Linked DNA regions of Homo sapiens: region 1 is linked to region 2. Evidence: promoter capture Hi-C in human tissues and cell types (Jung and others, 2019). All regions are on one chromosome and are shown on one strand. Each heading gives the region's core, a stretch centred on a gene start or on the middle of the fragment in contact. The rest is flanking DNA. Distances are from core to core; before and after follow the strand shown. Region 1 holds the start of MIR4327 (microRNA 4327). Region 2 holds the start of KRTAP27-1 (keratin associated protein 27-1).

What was found. The method cuts DNA at HindIII sites, captures the fragments that hold promoters and counts their contacts. A contact is called where the count stands out against the background at its distance.
Region 1: a fragment that was not itself captured here is called in contact with the fragment with the promoter of KRTAP27-1 in region 2 in 2 of the 25 tissues and cell types used here (hippocampus and small bowel).

Annotation. Positions count from the first base shown.
Region 1 is chr21:30,374,302-30,380,893 of GRCh38, reverse strand. MIR4327 (microRNA 4327) reads left to right here and starts at 5,516; the gene lies at 5,516-5,600. The HindIII fragment of the contact is 5,336 bases long and covers 1,556-6,592 here.
Region 2 is chr21:30,332,220-30,338,943 of GRCh38, reverse strand. It overlaps KRTAP27-1 (keratin associated protein 27-1), which reads left to right and starts at 1,250. Exons shown (of 1, transcript NM_001077711.1): 1 at 1,250-1,931. The coding sequence starts at 1,276. The coding sequence ends at 1,899. The HindIII fragment of the contact is 14,979 bases long and covers 1-6,631 here.

The DNA of each region.
Region 1 (6,592 bases), core at 2,974-5,473, 39 kb before region 2:
TGGAAGAAAATATTGTAAAAACATATACTTTGATAGAGGATTTGAATCTTAGTCTTCTGTGTAAAAAAACAGTAAGAATATAATTATAATGAGATAACACACATAGAAAATGTTCAAAAGATTTGAACAGACACCTCTAAAGGAGAAGTATGGGAGGCAAAAAGCACATGAGGAAATGTTCAATATTATTATTCATTAGAGAAATGCAAATTGAAACCACAATGGGACACCATTACATGCCAACTAGAATAGACAAAATAATAAGGATAATACATACAGTGCGGTTGAGACTGTGAAACAAGTGAGATTTTCATACATTGCTATTGGAATGCAAAATGGTATAGCCACTGTGGAATATAGTTTGTCAGTTTTTTATAATGTTAAACATGTGGTTACCATATAAACCAGTAATCCCATGCATAGGTATTTACCTAAGAAAATTGAAAACATATTGTATTAGTCTGTTTTCATACTGCCTTAAAGATACTACCTGAGATTGGGTAATTTATAAAGAAAAAAGATTTAATTGACTCAGTTTTGCATGGCTGAAGAGGCCTCAGGAAACTTACAATCATAGCAGAAGGTAAAAGGGAAGCAAGGCACATCTTACATGGCGGCAGGAGAGAGAGAGAGCACACAAGGGAACCTACTACTTGCAAAACCATCAGATCTCATGAGAAGTTCCTCACTATCACAAGATCAGCATGGTAGAAACCACCCCCCATGATCCAATCACCCCCCACCAGGCCCCTTCCTCAACATGTGGGGATTATAATTCAAGATGAGATTTAGGTGGGGCCACAGGGCCAAACCATATCATTCTGCCCTTGGCACCTCCCAAATCTCATGTCCTTCTCACATTTCAAAACCAATCATGCCTTCCTAACAGTCACACAAAGTCTTAACTTATTCCAGAATTAACCCCAAAGTCCAAGTTCAAAGTCTCATCTGAGATAAGGCAAGTCCTTTTCTGCCTATGAGCCTGTAAATCAAAAACAAGTTAGTTACTTCCAAGATACAATGGGGGTACAGGCATTGGGTAAATGTTCACATTCCAAGAGGGAGAAATTGGCCAGAACAAAAAGGATACAGGCCCCATGTAGCACAGCCATTAAATATTAAAGCTCCAAAATAATTTCCTTTGAATTCATGTCCCACATCCAGGACACGCTGATGCAAGGGGTGGGCTCCTAATGCCTTGGGCAGCTTCTCTCCTGTGGCTCTGCAGGTTATAGTCCTCATGGCTACTTTCACAGGCTGGCATTGAGTGTCTGTGGCTTTTCCACACACACAATGCAAGCTGTTGGTGGATCTACATTTCTGGGGTCTGGAGGATGGTGGCCTTCTCATGGCTCCACCAGACAGTGCCCCAGTGGGGACTCTGTGTGGGAGCTCACACCCCACAGTTCCCTTCTGCACTGCCCTAGCAGAGGTTCTCCATGAGGGCTCTGCCCCTGCAGCAGACTATTGTCTGGACTTCCAAGCATTTACATATATCCTCTGAAATTTAGACAGAGGTTCCCAAACCTCAACTCTTGTTTTCTGCACATCTGCAGGCCCAATACCACTTGCAAGCCACCAATGCTTGGGACTTGCACCCTCTGAAGCAACAGCTGTAGCTATACCCTGGCCCCTATCAGCCATGGCTGGAGCTGGAGCTTCTGGGACACAAGGCATCAAGTCCTGAAGCTGCACAGAGCAGCCAAGCCCTGATCCTAATGTATGAAGCCATTTTTCCCTCCCAGGCCTCCAGGCCGGTGATGACAATGGCTCCTGTAAATGTCTCTGACATGCCCCTGAGACATTTTCCCCATTGTCTTGGCTATTGACATTCAGCTCCTCGTTGCTTATGCAAATTTCTGCAGCCAGCTTGAATTCCTCTGCAGAAAATGGGTATTCCTTTTCTATCACATGGTCAGGCTGCAAATTTTCCAAACTTTTATGCTCTGCTTCCTTTTTAAAATAAGTTCCAATTTCAAAGCATCTCTTTGTGAACACACATAACTGAATGCTTTCAGAATAAGCCAGGTCACATGTTGAATGTTCTGCTGCTTAGCAATTTCTTCCACCGGATACCTTAAATCATCTCTCTCAAGTTCAAAGTTTCACAGGTCTCTAAAGCAGGGGAAAAATGCCACTAGTTTCTTTGCTAAAGCATAGCAAGAGTGACTTTGCTCCAGTTCCCTATAAGTTCCTCATCTCCATCTGAGACCACCTCAGCATGGACTTCGTTGTTCATATCACTATCAGCATTTTGGTCAAAACCATTCAACAAGTCTCTAGGAAGTTCCAAACTTTCCCACATCTTCCCGTCTTCTTCTAAGCCCTCCAAACTGTTCCAACCTCCTCCTGTTACCAGTTCCAATGTCGCTTCCACATTTTCAGTTTATCTTTATAGCAGTACCCAACTCTGCTGGTACCAATTCTCTGTATTAGTCTGTTATCACACTGCTATGAAGATACTACCTAGGACTGGGTAATTTATAAAGAAAAATGGTTTAATTGACTCATAGTTCCTCATGGTTGGAGAGGCACCAGGAAATTTACATCATGGTGGAAGGTGAAGGGGAAGCAAGGCACATGTTACATGGTGGCAGGAGAGAAAGAGAGTATACACAGGCAGAAACTGGGACTTTTAAAACCATCAGATCTCATGAGAAATCCCTCACTATCATCAGAACAGCATGGCGGAAACCGTCCTCATGATCCAATCACCTCCCACCAGGTCCCTTCCTTGACATGTGGGGATTATAATTAGAGATGAGATTTGAATGGGCACACAGAGCCAAACCATATTACATATGTCCACAAAATTATCTGTATGTGAATGTTTATAGCAGTTTTATCCACAGTAACTCCAGACTCAAAATCATCTAAATGTCCATTTTCTAGTGTATAGCGTACATACAATGAAATACCACTTGGCAATAAAAGGGAATAAACTACTGGAATATGCAACAACATGGATGAATTTCAAAAGCATTATGCTCTGTGAAGGAAGTTAAACACAGAAGGCAACGTAATGTGTAATTCCTTTTATCATGCAGTTCAAAAAATAAGACTATAGGAACAGAAATTTAGATATTGGGGAAGCAGATTGATCCAAAGGAGCACAGGAGAATTTCTAGAAATAATGGAAATACTCTATCTCAATCAATTGATGATTACATAACTATATATGTTTGTCAAAACTCATTGAACTGGGAAGCCAAGGCAGGAAGATTGCATGAGGCCAGGAATTCAAGACTAAACTGGACAACACAGTGAGAATCTGCCTCTACAAAAAAAAAAGAAAAAAAAATAGCTAGGGGTTGTGGTATGCACTTATAGTCCTAACCACTCAGGAGGCTGAGGCAGGAGAATGACTTGAGCTCAGCAGTTGGAGGCTACAGTGAGCTATGATCACACTACTGCACTCCAGCCTGGGCAACAGAGCAAGCCCTTGCCCCCTCCACCAAAAAAAGAACAGAAAGGAAAAAACCCATTGAACTGTACTCCTAAAAATGGTGCATTTCATTTTATGGGAACTGTGTATCCACAGATCTGACTTTACAAAAGAGTCAAACAACTGACCAGAGGAATATATTAGCAACATATGAAAGACAAAGGCATACAAAAAGAATGCACAAATTCTCTAAAAATACATTTAAAAGAACAAATGACTCCATAGAATAATGGCTAAAAGATAACAAAATATGAGAAACTAAAACAGGTCTGAGTTACACAGCTAAGTGATGGAGCTGGGATTCAAACTCTGCCAGCCTGAATCCAAAAGCCTTGATCGTAACTACCATGCTAGAATTGAAATTATGTATGTCCAGCAATTGCATCTAAATATACATGTTCCAGAAGCCCTAGACAGTAGATGCAAGGGCCTATATAGAAGTATATTTCTTGCCACATGGTTTGTGATAGTAAAAAATCAAGAATGGTAGAGCGATATATCAATAAAATATTTTTATACAGTAGAATTCTATAAATTTGTAACAAGGAATAAACTAGATGTGTGTATCATAGCAACATGGTTATTTGCATAAAGTCTGACAATGGTGTCAGTATTGCAGTTCAAATCTCATCTCTGCTACTAACTACATGGGTAGCTTTGGCAAGTAACTCAATCTGTTTGTGTCTCAGCTTCCTCAGCTATAAAACAAGAATAAAAGTGGTGTGTACCATGTAGAATTATTATGAGGATTGAGTTAATATTTGTAATACAGTGCTGAGAACAGTGCCTGACATTTAAAAGTTCTACTGTAGTGATAATAAATGCACAAATATATAAATATCAACTTGGATATGTTTTAGATATTTTTATTTAAATAAATTTAATATAAAAAGAAAGCTACAGATACATATATGTATCCAATAAGATGGCATTTTTGTAACTTAAAACAACAATAAATGGTATAAACCGATAAATATATGTATAGACAATTTCCTGGAATGCTATGCAAAAACGAATGCATTATTGTGATGCCTTTGGAAAGATATGAAAAAGAATCAGACTGAGAGACTGGCCCACAAGGGGTCTCTCTCTGTAAGATAGCGAATAGAATGGTGGTTACCATAGGCTTGCAAGGGTAGTGGAAAGAAAGGACAGAGAGGTGTTGGTTAATGGGTGCAAAAATATAGTTAGATAGGAGGAATAAGATCTAGTGTTCAGTAACACAGTACAGCAACTGTGGTTAACAATAATGTATTGCATATTTCAAAATAACTAGAAAAGTAGATTTGGAATGTTCTCAACACAAAAAAAATGATAAATGTTTAAGGTGATGGATATGCCAGTTACCCAGATTTGATCATTACACATCGTGTGCCTGTATCAAAATATCACATGTACCCCATTAATATGCGCAACATTATGTATCCATAAACATTTAAAATAAAAAAGAGAAAGATGAACGCAAATCTGACAACGTGGTAACAATTGTGAGTTTAGGCATCCAGAAAATGACTCTAGAATTTACTTTAATTTTCTATTTGTTTTCAGTAAATGCAAGGGTAAGGTCTCAGAAGAGATAAGAAGAACCGAGAGGTGTGTAAGCAGGCTGTTTATAAATCTTTTTGTTTGTTTGTTTGTTTGAGACGGAATCTCACTCTGTCGCCCAGGCTGGAGTGCAGTGGCATGACCTTGGCTCACTGCAACCTCTGCCTTCCAGTTTCAAGCGATTCTCCTGCCTCAGCCTCTCCAGTAGCTGGGATTACAGATGTCTGCCACCACGCCTGGCTAATTTTTGTATTTTTAGTAGAGACGGGATTTCGCCATGTTTGAAAGGCTGGTCTCAAACTCCTGACCTCGTGATCCACCTGCCTCGGCCTCCCAAAGTGCTGGGATTACAGGCGTGAGCCACTGCGCCCAGCCTGGCCTTTTTATTTCAAACGAAAGTCATGGATGATGAAGACATAAAATGGATGAATTTGAAGCAGGAAGAGCTGTAGTGAAGTTAGAGGAGGTGCCAGGGCCTGGAAAAGTCTCAAACAATGAGGCCGGATGACCTCCGAGAAAGCCACAGGCCTGGGTAGGCTTGCATGGGGGACTGGGAAGAGACCATGAACAGGTTAGTCCAGGGAGTTCTCATCAAGCCTTTACTCAGTAGTGGGTTCTTCATAGTTAGCATTAATGTTTAATAGATACATTTCCCCTTGGGTGAGAATTTTAAAAATAAAATCTAGTGTAAAGCAGCTGTTATGAAGACTCTTTAGTGACCAGACAATAAAAGCCTCTCCTAGGTCTAGAGAAGGCAGAAAATTAAAAAGTGAACAGAAAGTAAAAAGGTGGCCGGACGCGGTGGCTCACGCCTGTAATCCCAGCACTTTGGGAGGCCGAGGCGGGTGGATCATGAGGTCAGGAGATCAAGACCATCCTGGCTAACATGGGGAAACCCCGTCTCTACTAAAAATACAAAAAATTAGCCAGGCGTGGTGGCGGGCACCTGTAGTCCCAGCTACTCGGGAGGCTGAGGCAAGAGAATGGTGTGAACCCGGGAGGCAGAGCTTGCAGTGAGCCAAGATTGCACCACTGTACTCCAGCCTGGGTGACAGAGCCAGACTCCGTCTCGGAAAAAAAAAAAAAAAAAAGAAAGTAAAAAAGGTATAGGGCAGTATATATGGATTTTTACTATTTCTACTACTGCCTAATATTTGGTTAATTTGAAAGCTTTTGAAGAATCTCTGGAAACATTGCAATAGAAGATTGTCAGTTTAAAGCTTCTGCTACATTACTATGTTAACTTGGAAAAACAATCACTTTTCAAGTAATTCAGATCATAGGCTACTTGTGGCTACTGTGTACTGTAATGATAGTTTTATTCTCTGTAGTGTTGTTATGCCTAAATTTCTAAAGAGAAAAGAGAAAGAAGAAAGAAAGAAAGAGAAAAGAAAGAAAGAAATAGAAAGAAAGAGAAACAGAGAAAGAGAGAGAGGGAGAAAGGGAGGGAAGGAGGCAGAGAGAGAGGGAGGGAGGGAAAGAAAAGAAAGAAAAAGAAAAGGAAAGAGAGGCAGAGAAAGAAAAGAAAGAAAAAGAAAAAGAAAGAGGGAGGGAGGGAAGGAAGGAAGGAGAGAGAGAGAAAAGATTTCAATATCACGTTTT
Region 2 (6,724 bases), core at 1-2,500:
GATCTTTAAACATACAAGTGTGGTTATTCAAAATTATAAATGACTTGCGTGTGTTACAAAGGTATTGTATACAAGATGAGTGTGCAGCCTATAAAGCTGAAAGTATTCAGATGTGCCCTTTTAAATTTATAATATCCTCAGTCTTTCAAGGAAGTGTTTGCATAAGAATTACTGAGAATTGCTGAATGTTCTTGGGCTTCTTCAGACCTTAGAAAGGGAGTCTAGTTAGTGCACTAAGACTATACTTCTATTTTATTGTCATTAGCTGAGCCAAATATATTATAGAATATGTTATAGAAATTGTGCTGGTTGGCTCTGTGCCATGAGTATGAAACTATGCTAAGAACGGTGTCCTAATGCGATAAACATAGGAACTGATCATCTGTCTGCAGTCAATAAAAAAAGCACAGAATAAAGATGAAAAATATCTGAAGAAGGTTCATTATAAAGGAAAATAATCAACCTTTGAGAAGCACAAACACAAGTAAACACACCACTTTGTCAAGTATAGAAAAAAGGAATTAAATCCATTAGTAATTCAGAAAAGGAAGAAATAACTCCTAAATGGGAAGATTGGGGAAGACTTCAGGAAAAGGACGCATTTAAACTTGGCTTTCAAGGAGATTAGGGAAACGAAATGTTAGGCAAAAGACAAGTATTTATTGGGCAATGGCCACACTCAGTACTTTGCATGAACACTGAGAAGGAATGTGATCACAAAGTCCTCTCACATTCTGGTCCACTGGAGAGAACAATATCTGAGTGGAATGAGATTGGGCTCAACCTGGATCCAATTCTAACTTTAAATGTCTTGAACATCAAATTACCACATTCTGCTACATTGGCAGCTCTCAAAACCAGTGCTAAATGTTAATCAGTATTCAGTTGGCCACTGCCTCATGCATTTCTCATTGTCCACTTACCAATGTGCAGAGTCATGGTGGCAAAAAAAAAAAAAAATGTTAGCTTGGTTGGACAGGTTTAGACTCTTATTTGACCAACCCCACCTTGAATGAGTCATCTTTGGAGCTAACATAAAAGCCATTTTGAAGATTCAAAATGGACTTACATCTTTGTTAATAAGACATCATCTGCATATATAACCAAAGTGGTAATGAGATGTTATCCTTCAAATTAGTTTAAGCAATGAGTTGCAAAGAAGTCTTGAGAAGCCAACACCCAGGTTTCTGAGTATATAATCGCCGCACCAAAGAATTTAATTTTCAAACTCAGCATGTTGAGTCCTTATGACCATCTTTAAGGATTTTTAGCAATATGCCTCATAGCCACTGCCATTCACTCAGGAGCTTCCACAATGCCCCACCACTCTCTGCCATCACACATGGCACTAATCCTATAACCTTTGAAGACAGATTGTGTTTGCCCAGCAGCTTCCATAGCAGAACCTGTTTCCTGGACAACTTTCAAGAAACCTGCAATGAAACCACCAGCTGCCAAATGACCAATTGTGAACAGGACTTATTCACAGACGATAGCTGTGTGCAAAGTAACTGCTTCCCCGGAGTTGTCCAAACTACTTACTCCAATTCCAGGCCCTGCGAAAGGACAGCGTGCCAATCAGAAAGTTCTTCAGCAGGGCTGGCTTGTGTTTCTCAGCCTTGCCAATCAGAAAGCACTCAGCAGATGGGTTTTGTAGCCCAGAGCTGCCAACCTGCAAGCCTCAAGGGAAACAGTTGCCCACCCAAGACTTCTAAGTCTAAAAATTTCGAAACTCTGGAACGTGCATCTAGCCAATGTCAGTGTCAGTCTCAGAACCCTGAATCCAGTTCCTGTAGACCTCTGGTCAATGTTGCACCTGAGCCACAACTCCTGGAATCTTCTCCAGGAGTTGAACCAACTTGCTGTGTTACTGGTGGTTCTCAATTGCCTAGTAAGTGAAGATCTGTAGGGGAGATGGCTTATATTCTCATTTGGATGAATTTATTTTTGAGATACTTAGATATTTTGTATTTCTTTAAATAAAAAATGTTGTGTGTGTTTGTTAGTAAATGAACATGTCTTATTTTACTACTGTCTCCAAAGACAAGATTTTTTTTCTTGTTTTTCTTTTGGGTATGTCTAGTGGTAATCTGGGGTTGGAAAGCATGCTAGCTATTTTAGAGCAGTAGGATACGATTTGTTATTAAGCAATAAGAGCTGTAGCCAGGAAATAACATGAATACTTAAAGGAAACATCACACTTTAACTGCAAGTTGTTTTCTTTGGAAATACTTAGCATTGGATCTGGTTTATTAAGTAATGTGCTACTAGTCTCAGAAATTCATAAAATATTGGAACCAAACCTAAAAGCCTACCTAGTCCTGTGAATTACGATAGGTTCAACTCTATCAGAGGTTGCCCAAGTAGTTAATAACATCAGAACCACAACTAAAATCCAGGCCTACTCACTGGCCATCTGTTATTTTAGCCATTGAATCACAACATTCTCAAATTAACTAGAAGATTAAGTCTATTGTTCGAATAGAGCAAGGTAATTTTGAATTTCACCTCCATGGGCTTTATAACCACGTAGCAACCAGAAGCCTTTAAATAGAATGAATTGAAGTTTAGAATCTTCACTTCATTTCGTTCCCGTTGTTTTTTTGGTTGTTTGTTTTTTTCCTGTTTTCATTATTTCTTAAGTATTTTTTGAGTTTGGAAAATATTCTTTGTATTAAATAAATTTGCTTTCTTTGGAAGCAAAATTTGGACTTGTCACACTATTATTTTTATTCAATCCTTTTGCAGGTGTTATGTTACAGGCTTTTTGTTTCTTCGTTTGTTACCTAATGAAAATAGTATAAATATTTAGAAGAAAAGAGAACATATCCTCTTGTTATAATTTTTATAGTGTGAACCAGAAAAGAATAACTCATGGTGGTAGTCAACAGAAGATGGAAAATATACTCATATGAACATCATAAGACCATAGAGTCAGATGTTTGAAATTGATTAATTTTATTTAGGTAGCTTAGCTATTCTGAAACTTTTGGTGTGTTCTTAAATTGATCTTTCAATTTTTTTTTTTTTTTTTGAGATGGAGTCTCGCTATGTCACCCAGGCTGGAGTGCAGTGGCGCAATCTCGGCTCACTGCAAGCTCTGCTTCCTGGGTTCACGCCATTCTCCTGCCTCAGACTCCCGAGTAGCTGGGACTACAGGTGCCTGCCACCATGCCCGGCTAATTTTTTGTATTTGTAGTAGAAACGGGTTTCACCACATTAGCCAGGATGGTCTCAATCTCCTGACCTCGTGATCCGCCTGCCTCGGCCTCCCAAAGTGCTGGGATTACAGGCGTGAGCCACCATGCCTGGCCTTGGATCTCACATTTTTTCAGGGCAAAATAAGGTAGTGGTTGAGAGCATGAACTCTGAATATGGATTTCCTTGAGCTGGAATCTTAGCTTTGCTTAGTGATGGCTGTTTAAGTTCCAACTGTGTGACTGTGTGCAAGTTATTTAACCACCTCAGTTTCTTCAACTTCAAAAGTGAAGGATAATAATAGGGCTACTGTGAGCCTTAATAAGTTAATAAATTGAAAGTGTAAGGCTTAAAAAATTACCATGTATATAGCATATTTAGCAACTCAGCTAGCTCAGAGACTTGGTATGGGGGAGGTAGTGGGGATTTGTAAATAAACCCAGAAATCCATGAGAGATTAGGAAAGCTAGTCATCCAACAAAAGAGAGATTAGCTGTTTTGTATTTTGGAAGATGCAGGCAGCATCATCTACTAAGGGAGAAAATTAAGAAACTTAAACGCTGTCTAGTTGAAGTAAATTGGCAAGTATCTCTGAATCTATGGCAAACCTAATGCTACTGATAATTTACCAGTTAGTTCTGAGGGTGGGTGCCATGGTAATTCTATGTATCAACATGATTGAGCCAAGGGCTGCCCAGATTAAGCATTATTTCTGAGTGTGTCTGTGAGAGTGTTCAAGGGAGATAAGCATTTAAATCAGTGTGCTCAGTAGATGGCCCTCTCCAATGTGGATGGGAATCGTTCAGTCCATTGAGGGCCTAAATAAAACAAATGGTCGGGGAAGGAGAAATGTGCCCGTTTATGTTTCCTGCAAGCCTACTTGAGCAGAGACATTGGGTTTCTCCTGCCCTTGGACTGGATTTATACCATTGGCTCCCCTGGTTCTCAGATCTTCACATTTGGACTGGAATTATATCACTGGTTTCCTTGAGTTTCCAGGTTGCAGGTGACACATCATGAGATTTCTTAGCCTCCATAATTGTGTGAGCCAATCCTTCGTGATAAATCACTCACTCTCTCTCTCTCTTCATACACACACACACACACACACACACACACACACACACACATGCATATATATACACACACATATATACAGTGAGATAAATATATATTATATATAGTCTGTCTATCTATCTATCTATCTATCTATCTATCTATCTATCTATCATCTATCATCTATCATCTATCTATCTATTTTATTGGTTCTGTTTCTCTATGTAGCCCTGAATAATACAGTGGGATAGACACAGGCCATCTCAAAGAGGAAGACTTAAGCCTAAAATCTGTAAACCACCACATACACAGGTGCTCTGTAGAGGGATAGGATTGACGGAAGTCTGAGAGAGGCCAAACACTATTCAATACCATCAATAGTACTCAGAGCCTTTGGCAGCCTCAATAGCAGAACATCCCTGAAGCAAACAACATTGACATAAAGCTTCTGTCCACAGCACTGATGGCAGTAACACAGCATTGGCAACAGTAAAGACAGAATTTATCTCGTGGCAGCTTCTCAGCATTCTAGTCACAGCCAATCATGTGAACATAGATCAAGTTCATTCACAATAAGGATTTTTACTATTGCAATGCCAACTGGGTTGCCCAGAAAAAGCTCAATTCATTTGGACCACTGTTTCTAAAGACAAGAGGGAAAACCTACCCATTCCATGTGCCTTCCAAGTATATATTATTTTACTGGGTGTAGCTTGCTGAGAAAACAGGACTTTGGCGAAAACGGGCTATGTGTGGTATGTGTTGTGGAGCAGGGGAATGCCAGGAAAGAGGGACGTGATGTTAAGTTTCACTTTCCCATCTACTCTGTTCATCATTCTAGACATTAGCTTTCCAGGCTGAGCTTGACCACTGCTAGAAAGAGAAGCTAGCTGAAGAAGGAGCCAGTATTTAATCTAACTCAACATGGAGCATATTAGAGCTCCTCATAGAAAGAAATTATGTGGACTCAGGTACAAAAAGACTTTTGATATTGGAATATGGAATGCCATAATTATATAAACCTTGGTAGAAAATTTAGTGTAAGGAAAAGGACATGAATCTTATAGTATGACTAGATCTTACTCAATTCCAAATTCTGTGTATTAAAAGCTATGTGCTCTGGGATGAATTAACATTCTTTTTTTCTTTTTCTTTTTTTTTTTTTTTTTTGTCAGTGTCTCACTTTGCTGCCCAGGCTGGAGGGCAGTAGTGCAATGTTAGCTCCCTGCAAACTCTGTCTCCCGGGTTCAAGCGATTCTCATGCCTCAGCCTCCCAAGTAGCTGGAATTACAGGTGCATGCCACAACACCTGGCTAATATTTGTACTTCTTGTAGAGATGGGGTTTCATCATGCTGGGCAGGCTGGTCTCAAACTCCTGACATCAAGTGATCCACCTGCCTCAGCCTTCAAAAATGCTGGGATTACAGGCGTGAGCCACTGCACCTGGCCCAAATTAACATTTCTGAGACTTGGTTCCATTATTGTAAAATGGAGATAATAATATTAAAGTCATTGGATGATTATGACAACTAAATGGCATGATTCCAATTAAATGCTTAGTGGACTGTTTGGCACATAATAAGAGCACAATATATGCTAGGTATCATTTGATACTTCGTCTGATATTTTTCTCTTGGGCCTCAATTTCAGTTTGTTTTTATGATTGTCTATAATGCATTTGAATCCAGGGCAGAGACCAAGAAAATTATTTCATTCCATGTGAAAAGAATGTAAGCAGTATGGGACATAACCAGGATATTCTATGCAGGACTCATTTTTAAGCAATGTCAAAACATACCGGTGGGTATATGCATGCTACAGAGCATTCTTCATAGACCAAGGGACTTCTTCCTGCCTAAAAAGAATGGTAGGATTTGTACATTGGTATCCTGAACACCTCAAGACATTGGTAGTTTAACCACATGTTTTTCTCTTAGAAGTAAAGCATAATGACTATCAAGAATGTCTTCTTGCCTGTACAGTGCTGGGTCAAGAGCCATAAAATAGCTCTTATTAATTGGGTGCTTATTATTTACCTAACACTTTGTACATATTTTATCATTTTAAACTCAAATAACCCAGTGGTATAAGTAACATTAGTAAATCCCCCTTTTTCCAGTGAGGACAAAGGCACAAATTTGTCCTGTGGAGGACAAGACTTTGCTTTGTGTTAGAAGAGAATTACTCATATCTTTCTTTAAGCCACGATATCCTTCCCTAGTTCTACTCTGTCTTTCTACTTTCAAGAGTCTTACTTACTCCCTACTCTGTAATTTAAGTAACTTTTCCAGTACAGGAAGTAAATGGTGGAACGAGGGTTTTAACCCATGAATCTTTAAAGTTTGAGTATAACACTGTAATACTTTAATTGTGCTTTACTTATATTATACTTCTAGTCATTAGAGTAGCTTCAAATGTGGAAGAAATATCTGTGCAATGTGGAGGACCGATACAAATAATTTGACTAAA